4 separate regions of the Homo sapiens genome follow, and all the other regions are linked to region 1. Evidence: promoter capture Hi-C in 16 types of primary human blood cells and fetal thymus (Javierre and others, 2016). All regions are on one chromosome and are shown on one strand. The core of a region is centred on a gene start or on the middle of the fragment in contact, and the rest is flanking DNA. Distances in the headings are between cores, read along the strand shown.

Region 1 (3,474 bases), core at 374-2,873:
ATGACACCCAATCATCATGCTAGTTCTAATAGGGTCTAGAGATGTTTAATGGCATCACTGTGCCCCGTGAGACACAGAAGTCACAACAACTCATGAAAAGGAAAGTGTTCATTGAGATACTCTCTAGTGTTGACTTAGTTGAGCCTATTATTGTTAACCAGATGGTTACTGTCTGCATCAAACTGGCAATCTGGAGCAGCAGGCTTCCCCTCAGTGGTGCACTGCCATGGCCGGACCCCTCCCTGCAGTCTTCTCTCCTCAGATAAAATGGCAAGCCTCGTACTCTACCAACTGCAGACCAAAGAATGAAGAGGTTGGCACTCAAGAGATATTTTACTTCATAGACAGAGGAATGTCACCTCTGCACTGCGCTGAGCACCTTCACAATGAAAGATTCAGATCTTCAGATAACAATTTAAAAATTTAGATGTGTGTGCCTGCCAGGATCTAACTGCCTCGCTAGTTAGATCCAGCTCAACAAAAGTACTTAAAATCTTTTCTGCTGGTTCCTATTTCAAAAGAAATCCCTGATGGAGGAAGCACAGACCTTCCAGTATCACTCATAAACTTTTCAATACAAATATGAAACTCAGTTCAGAGCAAGTATCATCTGACTGGGTTTCTCTCCTTCATCCCTGAATGTGTGTGTATACAGGCATACACGGCGTGCACGCGCGCACACACACAGCCATCAGCATGGCATGCTTGCTGAAGATTCAAGCACTCCTGCGTGAAAATGCAAGTACACTATGTCAGGTCAGCCCCACTATGACATCAAAAACCCCCCACCAAAGAAAAAACACCCCGGGAAAGGAGCCAGGAAAGGGAAACGCCTCCTTGAAACAGCCTGAGAAAGGCAATCTGATTCAGCCTGTGCTGAAACTATTCCCGAACACCAGCCAGGAAGTCCCTTCTTTCAGGGTGCTCCGCTGCCTAGCAAACCCAGACCTGCCTTTGCGGAAGCCAGATCTCTGGAGATTCAAGCCCTGGAACGGGTGATTTGGAAAGCGGCTTTCCTGCTCTTGTTCTGGCGCCCTTTAAGATCCATCAGTGGCCAGGTCTTCCAACTCTGCCTAGCCAATGCAAACACAAAAGCTGGTGGCTGCACCGCAAGCACACATACACTTACATACACACACAACACAGCACACACTTATACATACATACCTTTCACCCTCCATTGTGTGAGGCCCAGCCAGGGTGGTAGCTGCTGAACTGTGTATGCACTCGGGGATCCTAGTTCTGTTCTTGATTCTCCCAGCAGACCAGTGGGAAATCTGATCAGCAACAGTGATTCAGCATGGCTGCAAGTGAAGCCTCCTCCCTTCTCAATCCTCCTTCCTCTGACTTACTCGCAGCAGCTTCTACCGCAAAAGCAGCAGCAACAGAAAATGTCTTACCCAGAGCTCCCTGCAGCCCTTTCAGCTGCTAAAAGCAGCAACCCACTTGCTCCCCCTCCCCCGCAGGCTTGCTGCTCCTTGGTCTCCTAGGAACGGCGGCAGCTCCAGCGACCCAGGTGCACTGCCACCTTTCCAGCTTCCTCTGCATCTGCCCAGGCATCCCCAGCCCAGGCGATTAGCCCGCCCCTGGGGCTCCTGCCTCCTCTGTCTAGGCTGCAAAGAATCAGGCAGTTCGTCACTAGCCCGAGAAATACTGGCCCCTACACCCTCCCCTGCTCCCATAGGCTATGAGTCTGTCAGCCTGGCCAGATTGCTGGAATGAGGAGGCCCCTCTGTGGCCTGCAGTGGAGTTTATCATCCACCTGGGGAAATTCACTTGTAGGTCACAGTTTATGTTCCAAATCCTCCTCCCAAATTCTGTAGTAGCTCTGAGTGTCTGATAGATGGGGAGAAGTTAAGGGAAAAGCACCTGACAGAAGTGAGAAAAACACAGAGAGAAATTAAGAGAATACAGAGAGAAATTGGAAAACTAGTCGAAAAAGAGAGGTAGTACAAATAGGTGAAACTGAAACAAACCCTATTTTACTGCAAGAGGCCAAAGACTACTGCAGTAAAGCTATCACAATGAATACTAAAATATCTTAGCACAATCCTAAAATATCTTCCTAAAATCTGTCATATTGGAATTTAACTTAAGCAGTGGCTCCAACTAGTAAGTCTCCCACTGAACCCCCATATCCAGCCAAAGATCTTTCACATCCTGTAATCTCCAGCTGCTGAGCTTCAATTTAGACTAATTTAACTCTCCCTGCCTGAAATGCCTTCTCCAATCCCAGTCCTTTAGTCTTTCTGGGAGTCCAGTCAAATCCCATGTCTTCATAAAACCTTCCCTAATCACACCAATGACAGTCAATCACCACCAAAATACACAAACTATACTTTCCTGTATCGTCATCTCACACCTAATATACAGTCTTGGCTAATTCATTATTTATAAATCTTCTTTCCCAAACTAAAACATAATCTTGTGGAAGGCATGAGGCCAGTCTGTATATCCTAGCCACAGAGGCTTAGAGGTAACTGGGACAATTAGCTGCAAAAAGTGGTGCAGAAGCTATCCTAATGCCTCAGAAAAAAATCAGCTATGAGCATCTCTCTTCTGGGACACCTCATGGCACCCCTGGGCTTTTCCGAATCCACACCAGCACTCACTGGGTGAGTGACTTTCCTGAGTAGTGTTCTCCACACTCTGGACCTCATGCTCAGCTACTCATTCACAATATAGGGTCAGACCAGACAATCTTTAGAGTCCCTTTCAGCTCCAAGATCACAGGATTCTAAAAATGTTTTAAATGGTCCGTTTTTCTTCTCAGAGTAATCCGTGTGATTGTTTAAGAAGAAATACTAGGCTCCAATGTGTTGTAGGGGGCTTCAAGGAGGATAACATGATGTAGGTGAAAGTACGAAGAGACGCTCAGTAAATCTATCATCCTTATCATTTTAACCTGTTAAATTTCTTCACTACTACAAAGCCCTAAAACCACAGAAGGAAGAGAGGAACACTGAGGTGACAGAAAGTAAAAGTAACTAAAACTTTATATAGCCTCCTGAACTCAAACTGGCTACAGGGTTATTCTCAAAGATTACCTCCCCTGGCACCTCAGTGTTCTCTTAGACAAGGCCATTACTCACACTCACTCTTTCTCAAGTGAGAAGAGGCCTGGATAATTTCATTTACACCCCACAGGGCTGTATCTTCACTTCTTCCTTGCACAACAATACCCCTCATATCTTGTTCCCTCTATGTCCCTTCCTCCTCTAATCAGCCTTGTGGCCCTGCTCCAGATATTTCCTCTTGAGGCCAATCACAGGGACCACAAAAAGCTGAACATCACAAATAAGGAAACTGAATCTCGGAATCCGTGCCAGAGTTCAGACATCCACCAGGAACACAACTGGGTGATTCATAAAAGGGACATAAGAAAGAGATGACTCCTCCTTTGCACATACCCACGTTTACATATTCGCCATACAGGAAGGTGTGGAAATGCCACATCTAACAAACCAGACAAAG
Region 2 (3,474 bases), core at 510-3,009, 420 kb after region 1:
CAGGTAGTTTAACTTTCTGGAGTTAGCCTATGTGCTCTAACTACTCTGTTCTGCTTCCCTAGGCAGAAGACCAACAAGACAGCTGATTTAAGTTACTTTCTTACCTCTTCACTCTCTGTGAGTAGTCCCTGAACTGTACAAATAACTGAGGGAGCTGAAGCCACCTCTGGCTTTCCATTTTCTCCCAGTGGCTTTTCAGCTACTAAGGGGTCTCCTTTAGCTGAAAGCTCTTCAGTCTCTCTGCAGAGCTCCCTTTCTCCTTCGCTAGCTTTAATTTCCCTTCCTTCTTGTCTGGTACCAGATGGAGGGCAGCAGCCTTCACTTGATTCGTTGCTGCTGATGCACAAGGGCTCCATTAAATAAGCTACCTGCAATCAAAGTTTATTATTAGATGCACAGGAACACCACTGAAAATCATCATCCACATATCAACAATGCCACATGCTAACACTGTCACAGTGACTAAGTCTGAGAGGACAAAATGGTTTAATTAATACAATCATCTAAAATCTGCCAAAATATCTTATATACACAGGCACTGGGCTGGTTGGTGGGGACACTACAGTGAACAAGAAAGATATGGTTCTTGCCTCTTCCAGGAGTTTATGTTCTACTTTTTCATCTCAGCTGTCAACTCTGATCAATTGGGAGTGGCTGTCTAGAATAAAGTGTTGAAAATTTTGTCTACCACAGACACTTGTAGAGAGAAGTGGCAACATTTGAAATGGATGCTTGCTGATCTTGATCTAGGGTCTTCTAAATGTGTTCAATAACAGCATACATATAACTCTCTGTCCAATTCTGTTTATTTCTGGTCCTCAGCCCTTAACCAAGGTAATGACACTTAAAAATACTACCTTAAAGTTACAGCATTTTAAGCTTCAAGGAAAATTTGGGCAAGTATAACTTCCCACAACTCCAAAAGCATGAATTACAAGGATACTCATAAAGCAGTCCTTATGACCCAGGCCCCTAATGACTGAAGTATTAGAAATTCAGTCAAAAAGCATGTATTTTTTTATTTTTAATTTTTTTACTTTTGAGACGGAGTCTCGCTCTGTTACCTAGGCTGGAGTCCAATGGCACGATCTCAGCTCACTGCAACTTCCGCCTCCCGGGTTCAAGCGATTCTCCTGCCTCAGCCTCCCAGGTAGCTGGGATTACAGGCACATGCCACCAAGCCCGGCTAATTTTTTAATTTTAATTTTAATTTTAATTAATTTATTTATTTAGAGACAGAGTTTCGCTCTGTCGCCCAGGCTGGAGTGCAATGGTGTGATCTCAGCTCACTGCAACCTCCGCCTCTCAGGTTCAAGTGATTCTCCTGCCTCAGCCTCCCGAGCAGCTGGGATTACAGGCGCCCGCCACCACGCCCGGCTAATTTTTTGTATTTTTAGTAGAGATGGGGTTTCACCATGTTGGCCAGGCTGGTCTTGAACTCCTGACCTCAAGTGATCCGCCCGCCTCGGCCTCCTAAAGTGCTGGGATTACAGGCATGAGCCACTGCGCCCGGCCATTTTTGTATTTTTAGTAGAGATGGGGTTTCACCATGTTGGCCAGGCTGGTCTCGAACTCCCAACCTCAAGTGATCCACTGGCCTCAGCCTCCCAAAGTGCTGGGATTACAGGCGTGAGCCACTGCACCCGGCCCAAAAAGCATGTATTTGGTGCATATTCTGTATCAGCACCAAGTGCTGAGGACATAGCAATGAACTTAATCCCTGCCACTGTGGAGCTTATATTTTAGTAAACAATATTAAGAGTGGTAGAAGCATGTAAGGATAAGCATTCTCTTAGAAAGTTGAGGCTTTTCCAGCTTTGGAAATAAGAGCTCACTGTTACCTCAGAGAGAAAGTGGAGGAGGTTCTGGTGGCTGGCTTTCCTTGCCGCTTCCTGAGATTCCTCACTGCCTCCATCCCCAACAAGCAGTTCACTAGGTTCTCTCTCCGGGCTGCTTTCCTCTAGTTCCTCAGCCTCTGGATCCTCAGTTTCCCTCCAGTTGCCCACATCAAGATCCAGACTGGAGTCCCATGAGCTGAAGAGGGACCTGCAGTCATTGCTCAACTCAGAGTCATTGGGATGATCTTGTTCAGAATCCAGCCAAACCCACTCGTGTCCCATCTGTAAATACACAGGAAAACATGCATTAAATTCATTCAAATAAATATTCCTGAGGCATCTCCATCTCCCGAGTTCAGTAGAAAAATAAGGGGCCAGAAATTTATTTGTATTCAAGTATTCATCATTAGGAAGAATTAAAATCTTGCTGAAGGGAGACATGAGATGAAATTATATTTGTCTTTGGGAATAAAGAAAGCCCCATGTCAGTATAACAGAGATATTGCACCATACAATACAGTATAATAGAGACATTAATATTACCTAATAATTATTTTTACTTGGAATTCCTCATATTCACACCAAAAGAAGGGAAAGAACTGGAGCATAGCTAGCTCAATTATTTTCCTCTAGCCCAAATCATCCATAACTAAACCGTAAGGCAAACAAATTGAGGGGGCAGGGGATATTTTCCTCAGTGTATAAACATTTTTAACCTATGAACCATTAAACCTTCAAAACACACTTTAGGATTGCCTTTGGCATCCTTCTGGTCATATCCAAATTGATGTTGAGAAACATTAAGCTTAAAATATATCTTCCCTTGCTCTCATTACACCACTATCTTGGTTTTTTTATATCTTTCTTTGTCCTCTCCCTTTTACAACTTTCAATAAATCCCTACCTTCTATGTTCATGCTTGGTCCTCTGCTTTCTTATTAATGTATTTTAAAAAAATGTATATATACTTTGAGGTTTCAACTTTGACCTCTATTCAGGTGGCTCCCAAATCTCTCTACCTTTACTTCTTATATGAATTCTGGTGTCATTTCTCCATGCATCCAAAAGTCAATTCCCTTTAGATGCTCTACCACCTGCTGTAACATTTCTAAAATAAAAATCACATTTCCTTTATCTCCAAAATCACTGCTTCTTCCCAATTTCCTTATCCCCATCACCATTTTCTTTTCTTTTCTTTTTTTTTTTTTTTTTTTTTGAACGAACTTTCACTCTTGTTGCCCAGGCTGGAGCACAATGGCCCAATCTCGGCTCACTGCAACCTCTGCTTCCTGGGTTCAAGCAATTCTCCTGCCTCAGCCTCCTGAGTAGCTGAGATTACAGGTGCCCACCACCATGCCCGGCTAATTTTTGTATATTTATAGAGACGGGGTTTCACCATGTTGACTAGGCTGGTCTTGAACTTCTGACCTCAGGGGATCCACCCACCTTTGCCTCCCAAAGTGCTGGGATTACAGGCGTGAGCCACCACACCCGACCCCATCACCATTTTCTTAGTCTACAGAACCCACAATTCTGTTTTGACCCTTCCTTCTCTTATATTCAGTAAGCAAGTCCTCTTCCCAGTTTTCTCCCACAATAAGTTTTCTCAGTGTCCATCCTTTCCTGAATAAATGCC
Region 3 (3,474 bases), core at 595-3,094, 310 kb after region 1:
ACCATGCCTAGCCTTCAGGCACCTTCCATTCAGACCACATTTTCTGTGGCAAACTGACAACGCCAATGTTTGCAGTTTGCAGTTTAACTACAGCTGTATTTTTTGCCAAACATTTACACCTAACTACTCTTTTCCACTAGAGTATATAACAATTTACAGAAGCATTTAATGTTTTCTGAATCCCCAAGCTCATCAGCAGAGAAGCTCCAAAACATGAAGGTGTACATCCCTATTTTAGGCCTTCATAGAAAGAAACCAACCTGGCCGGGCACGGTGGTTCAAGCCTGTAATCCCAGCACTTTGGGAGGCCGAGGAAGGCGGATCACGAGGTCAGGAGTTCAAGACCAGCCTGACCAACATAGTGAAACCCCATCTCTACTAAAAATACAAAGTTAGCTAGGCGTAGTGGCGCATGCCTGTAATCCCAGCTACTGGGGAGGCTGAGGCAGGAGAATCATTTGAACCCAGGAGGCAGAGGTTGCAGTGAGCCGAGATTGCACCACTGCACTTCAGCCTGGCGACAGAGCAAGACTCTGTCTCAAAAAAAAAAAAAAAAAAAAAAAAAGGCCGGGCACGGTGGCTCAAGCCTGTAATCCCAGCACTTTGGGAGGCCGAGGCGGGCCGATCACAAGGTCAGGAATTCCAGACCAGCCTGGCCAATATGGTGAAACGCTGTCTCTACTAAAAATATTAAAAAAAATTAGCTCGGCATGGTGGTGCATGCCTGTGATCCCAGCTACTCAGGAGGCTGAGGCAGGAGAATTGCTTGAATCTGGGAGGCGGAGATTACCGTGAGCCGAGATCGCGCCACTGCACTCCAGCCTGGGCGACGTAGACACCGTCTCAAAAACAAAACAAACAAAAAAGAAGGAGATAATAGAATGGAGGGAAGACAATATTCAAAGAAATAGTGGCTGAACATTTTCCAGAATTGAAGGTAAATATCCTAAATTCTGGAAGACCAAAACTTGCCATGCTGAAAAGTATAAAATGCACACATAAAATTTAGTACCCAGAGAGAAAGGGGATCTTAAAATTAGGCAGCAAGAAAAGACATTAGGCCGGGCACAGTGGCTCACGCCTGTAATCCCAGCACTCTGGGAGGCCAACATGAGCAGATTGCCTGAGGTCAGGAGTTCGAGACCAGCCTGACCAACATGGCAAAACCCTGCCTCTACTAAAATTACAAAAATTAGCTGGGTGTGGTGGCACACGCCTGTAATCCCAGCTACTCGAGAGGCTAAGGCAGGAGAATCACTTGAACCTGGGAGGCAGAGGTTGCAGTGAGCTGAGATTGCGCCACTGCACTCCAGCCTAGGCAACAGAGCAAGACTCCATCTCAAAAAAAAAAAAAAAAAAGAAAAGAAAAGACACTAATCTTCAAAGAAAAGATAATTTGGCTGACAGCTGACCTTTCAATAGTAACAATAGAAGCCAAATGATACTGCAGCGTATCTTCAAAATGTTAAGAGAAAATTACCATCTTCCAGAAGGAAGATCCAAAATGCGAGAAGTAATGGTGAACAAAGAAAATTGTTTGCATGTTTGCTGTAAATCTAAACACTATCCAAAATAATGGCAACAATATCTAAATTCTACTATTGTTCAATAATTTAACATATACTATTGTGAGAGGGTAAATTAAAGTATTAGAAGGCTTTGTATTGTTTAAGAGGAGGCTAAATAAGTCTATAATTTGTTGAGTTAAATATACATGTTAAAATTTCTACATAATCAGTACAAGAAATTAAACAGTATATATAACTTCCAGTTTATTAGGGGGATAAAATAAAATAGGAAGATCTTAATTTTAAAAATGGATAAAAAATGTTTAAGGAGGACAAATAGTAAAACATTAGATAGCAGAAATAAATTCAAATATGAGTAATTACAATCAGTGTAAATATATTAATTCCTAATTAAAAGTCAAAGAGCTGGGCATGGTGGTTCACACCCATAATCCCAGCACTTTGGGAGGCCAAGGCAGGAGGATTGCTTAAGGCCAGGAGTTTGAAACCAGCCTGGGCAACATAGCAAGACCCCATCTCAAAAAAAAAAATTGGGGGTGGGGGGTGGTACTGAGACAGGAGAATCACCTGAACCTGGTAATTCAAGCCTGCAGTAAGCACCACCGCACTCCAGCCTGGGTGGCAGAGCAAGACCCTGTCTCAAAAAAAAAAAAAATATTAATAGCCAGGCACAGTGGTTTGCACCTGTAATCCCAGCTAGTCAGGAGGCTGAGGCAGGAGGATTTTTTGAGCCCGGAAGTTCAAGGTTACAGTGAACTATGACTGCACCACTGCACTCCAGCCTGCACAACAGGGGAAGACCCTGAAGTTCATAGCTGCATTTTTTATATTGGTGAAAAAAATGGAAACTCAAGCTCAGGTAGATAGCAATGATAGAATGATGAATGATTAATACAGTATGGTATCTTCATACCATGTAAACAATGAAAATGAACAAACTACAGCTACAAACAACAATGTGATGAATCACAAAAATAAATGAAAGAAGCCAGACACAAACAAATACTGTATGAATCCGTTAAAAACAGTTCAAAAGCAGGGAAAACTAAACTATCATTTTAGAAGTCAGAATTGTGGTTAAGGAGGGAAGTCTTTTTGAGGAAGGAAGAAATCAATAATAAGGAGGGGTCATGAGAAGATATTCCATTTCTTAACCTAGGGGGAAGTTGCACATATATGTTCACCTAGGGACAATTCAGTGAGCTGTACTCATGATCTGTATACTTCTCCATATGTATTTTATATTTCAAAAAGTTTAAAAATAAAAACTAGCTCCTTAAGTTTTTAAGTTTTTTCTTTAATTGAAATTAAATATAACAGTGTTTCCCAAAAAAAGCAAAACTAAATCATCATGTTTAGGGATACAAATTAGGGGAAAAACTTAAAAGAAAAAAAAAAAAAGCCAGGAAGTGACTATCATAGACATCATGATACTGGTTCTGGTTCTTCTGGGAACGAGGGGCAAGAGTTCGTGGAGACACAAAAATAAGAATGCTCTTATTCTTGATATGAGCTGTGGTGGTTACATGGGTGTTTGCTTTGTATTAAATTGACCAGGGGCCAGGCGCGGTGGGTCATGCCTATAATCCCAGCACTTTGGGAGGCTGAGGAGGGTGGACCACCTGAAGCCAGGAGTTCAAGACCAGCCTGGCTAACATGGTGAAACCCTGTTTCTACTAAAAATACAAAAAGTAGCCGGGTGTGGTGGCGCATGCCTGTAGTCCCAGCTACTCGGGAGGCTGAGGCAGAAGAATCACTCGAACCCAGGAAGTGGAGGTTACAGTGAGCTGAGATCGTGCCACTTCATCCCAGCCTGGGCAACAGAGCCAGACTCCATCTCAAATAAAAAAGAACAACAACAAAAGAAGAAATTGACCAGGCCAGCAAGAATCACTTGAGGCCAGGAATTGGAGACCAGCCTGAGCACCATAGTGAGACCCTGTCT
Region 4 (3,474 bases), core at 493-2,992, 280 kb after region 1:
CATGATCTTAAAAGCAATTAACTGTCATGTATTTGTGAATATTAAAATATTATCATATTATTTATCTACAGCTGGGTGCCATGGCTCATGCCTGTAATTCCAGCACTCTGGGAGGCCAAGGTGGGCAGATCACTTGAGGTCAGGAGTTCGAGATCAGCCTGGCCAACATGGTGAAACCCCATCTCTACTAAAAATACAAAAAGTAGCTGGGTATGGTAGCACACACCTGTAGTCCCTGCTACTCAGGAGGCTGAAGCATGAGAATCACTTGAACCTGGGAGGCAGAGGTTGCAGTGGGCCAAGATGGTCCCACTGCACTCCAGCCTGGGTGACAGAGCAAGACTCTGTCTCAAAGAATAAAAGAAACAAACAAAATTATCTACAGTAAATGAAGAGAGGAAACTTTGTTCAGAGATCTAGACACCTTCCCAAAATAACTAAATGAATGAATGATCAGATGATATTACAACATAAATGCAAATATCACCCCAAATACTACCATACCTAGCTGCACAGCTATTAAAGAAACGGGTGTATATGTGCACACATACATACACATGCTAATGATTATCTATGTATAAGTGGAAAATAGAAGAAAACAGTGAATTTCTCATATTAAACATGAAAGCACTTATTGACCATAAGCATTTTTGCTTTTTTTTGCACATCTCTTTTGCAAATTTTTGCATATCTTAAATTCCTTCACAAGTGAATGTTAGCATAAGAATAAGTAACAAGATGCGTATTGTAATTCCATGAATATCAACACAGTACATGGTGCTGTCATAATTTTAAATGAAAACCAGGCCATGGCTAAGACTGAAACTTTTTCAAATAGGGTAAATGCGCAATTTTTGAAAGAAAAGAAGGGGTAGGATTGGTTTACAATTTATGACCAGAAAGTTGTGTCTTTGAAGAGGAACTTAGTTGTCCCAACAGTACATGATGCTGTCATAATTTTAAATGAAAACCAGGCCAGGTACAATGGCTCACTCCTATAATCCCAGTGCTTTGGGAAACTGAGACAGTTTGGGAAACTGAGACAGGAGGATCACTTGAGCTCAGGAGTTCAAGACCTGCTTGGGCAACATAGCAAGATCTTGTCTCTACAAAACATAAAAAATTTTAAAAAATTAGCCAGGCATGGTGGTGCGCGCCTGTAGTCCCAGCTACTCAAGAGGCTGAGGCGAGAGGATCACTTGAGCCCTGGAGATCAAGACTGTAGTGAACTAGGATCACACCACTGCACTCCAGCCTGGGCGACAGAGCAAGGACATTTCAAAAAAACAACAACAACGAATAAATGAAAACCAACTGAAATGACAATCCTAGTGAAAAATAAATAGCTTCTGATAGATTCTACCAGTGAGTCAATGACTTTGCTTCCATTAAATCTCACTGCAATTATTAATTTATAAATTTTCATTCAGGACTGAAAGATTATCTGACTCTTGGAACTTTAAATATGTGTCTGCAATTCAGCTAACAGAGGGAACATGGAAACCTATCACTATAAAGAGAATGGCTCTAGAGTTATTTTAAAAGGCTCAAAAAACCTTTACCATATTGGTTTCGGTTCATATTTAATAAATGCAAAATGCTTATTATGTGTCTCAACATAAACATTTGAAAAAATTCCTGTAATAATAAAATGGATTCAAAAATTCAAAACAAAAAAGCGTAATTTTGGGGGGAGAAAAATTAAAGTGATGCATTGAAAAAAGGGTAGCCTTACTAATAACATTTCGTTTTAAAACCTGTTTTTTGATCCAGATTATAGAGTAAAAGAACAGAACTGAATCAGGTTACCCCTTCCTGAATATAGCAAGTTCAAAGTAAGCCTTATGATTTAGCTGTACAGAAAACATGTGTAAGAGGGTCACAGAACGTCTTTGCATTGACCTTTATACATAAATCAAAGACATCCAACTAACTTAGGCTCACAGTTTAAAATTTAAGAAAAAGACGGATAAACACTTTCGAAAGAAAATATACCTTCTCTGACAACATAATACTTAAGGATATATACACACATATTATAGAATGCCCAGCTGTGATAGAGATAGGCATAAAGGAAGTAGTTATAATTTCTTAGCATAACTGAATTTCTTTAGAAGCCCCGATTCAAAAAATAAATGAACTCCATAATACCAAAAAAGCCTGAAAGGGTAATTTTAAAATTCAAGAAATATATAACTCTATATGCCAACTTTACACATTTTCCTATATAATGAAGCATGTCCCTCCATTACATATACATGAATACCATTTGGCTCTAGGAACAGAAGCATTTCCTCACTTCTTGGTTCTTTGACCTTTCTGCTGCCTCTACCATTATTTTTCCTGTTCCTGTTCCACTCTAGCTAAGCACTACTTTTTAGTCACCACCAAAAAAACCTAACAAAGATACATCTTTTTTTGTTTCTTTAGCTTAGAGTCTAATGTTCAATTTGATATTCATTTCCTTTAGCTAAGTGTTCAAGAACAAGTTTTAGGTATATTCAAAGCCTAGAATCAAAGTTGTCTTCTTCCTTTTGCTAGGAAATTCTATCAAACCAGGGATAAGTAACCCTAATAGTGGTAATATCACCACTAAGCAACACCTTTGGCTACTATTGGACATTGTGCCACCACACACATTACCTTACATAAATTTCTCTTCTTTCTTTTTGATGACCCCTCCTACTCCTTGTTCTTGTCTCCTCCCTTTCCTCTTCTTCACCCTGTTTCTTAGGCTAATAAAACCAATCACAAAAAGTAAATAGTACTAGAGGGATCCCGGAAGTTGCCTTTCCTATGACAAGATCATACAACCCCAAAAAGCAAATGAGAAAATAACAAATTAATCTCTAAAATACTATACTTACTGTTTACATGTCAAGATTTCTAAAAGGTAAAGACTAGGAAATTAACAACAAATGACCAATTGATAAGTATCAAATTATGTTACCTTGAGAAAGCTGCATCAAGTGAATATGTAAACTGCCAGGGATAACAGGTTCAGGAAGTTCTTGAAGAAAAAATCTAAGAAGGCTAATAGCTGAGGGAACATCTGCTTCCTTAACCAAATCCACCTCTTCTCCGCTGTCGTATCTCTGCCGAAGCCACTCCACTGTCTCAGCATTTCCATTGACTTGAAAAAGTCCTTGTTGCTCCAGACCTCCTACGTTAGTTCAAGGCAATCATTCAATAAGCTGCAATGTCAACTGCTTGACCATATATATTCATTCTCCAATTAACTTAAAATACTCATACTTTTGGAAAGCCTTTCTTGGCTCCCCTGACTTGTCTAAAAACCTTCAAATTATACATCTAGAAACATACTATCTCTGTTCTAAGGGATATTCTATTTTATCCCACCCCTTATATCCATTAAAAATATTCCTATCACCCCCACTAAAACTTGTTCTAGGCTGGGCAACTGTCATTTCTAAGTATATGAATTTAAGTAAAAATCACACTAAAACATTAAAA

The links. The method cuts DNA at HindIII sites, captures the fragments that hold promoters and counts their contacts. A CHiCAGO score of 5 or more calls a contact.
Region 2: a fragment that was not itself captured here is called in contact with the fragment with the promoter of KLHL3 in region 1 in 1 of 17 cell types (naive B cells); the score reaches 6.4 in naive B cells.
Region 3: a fragment that was not itself captured here is called in contact with the fragment with the promoter of KLHL3 in region 1 in 5 of 17 cell types (naive CD8 T cells, activated CD4 T cells, non-activated CD4 T cells and 2 more); the score reaches 7.5 in naive CD8 T cells.
Region 4: a fragment that was not itself captured here is called in contact with the fragment with the promoter of KLHL3 in region 1 in 1 of 17 cell types (non-activated CD4 T cells); the score reaches 5.1 in non-activated CD4 T cells.

The regions. Positions count from the first base shown.
Region 1 is chr5:137,734,466-137,737,939 of GRCh38, forward strand. KLHL3 (kelch like family member 3) reads right to left here and starts at 1,624. Exons shown (of 15, transcript NM_017415.3): 1 at 1,168-1,624. The coding sequence starts at 1,181. RefSeq lists an enhancer at 1,223-1,891. The HindIII fragment of the contact is 9,233 bases long and covers 1-3,474 here.
Region 2 is chr5:138,150,641-138,154,114 of GRCh38, forward strand. BRD8 (bromodomain containing 8) reads right to left here. Exons shown (of 27, transcript NM_139199.2): 21 at 1,842-2,120; 22 at 105-368. Among named protein-coding and RNA genes, the nearest start is that of NME5, 13 kb to the left of the region's middle. The HindIII fragment of the contact is 1,764 bases long and covers 878-2,641 here.
Region 3 is chr5:138,039,723-138,043,196 of GRCh38, forward strand. It overlaps a transcript of FAM13B not described here. Among named protein-coding and RNA genes, the nearest start is that of FAM13B, 8.4 kb to the left of the region's middle. The HindIII fragment of the contact is 5,363 bases long and covers 1-3,474 here.
Region 4 is chr5:138,015,352-138,018,825 of GRCh38, forward strand. It overlaps FAM13B (family with sequence similarity 13 member B), which reads right to left. Exons shown (of 24, transcript NM_001385994.1): 4 at 2,951-3,163. Among named protein-coding and RNA genes, the nearest start is that of FAM13B-AS1, 16 kb to the right of the region's middle. The HindIII fragment of the contact is 4,772 bases long and covers 1-3,474 here.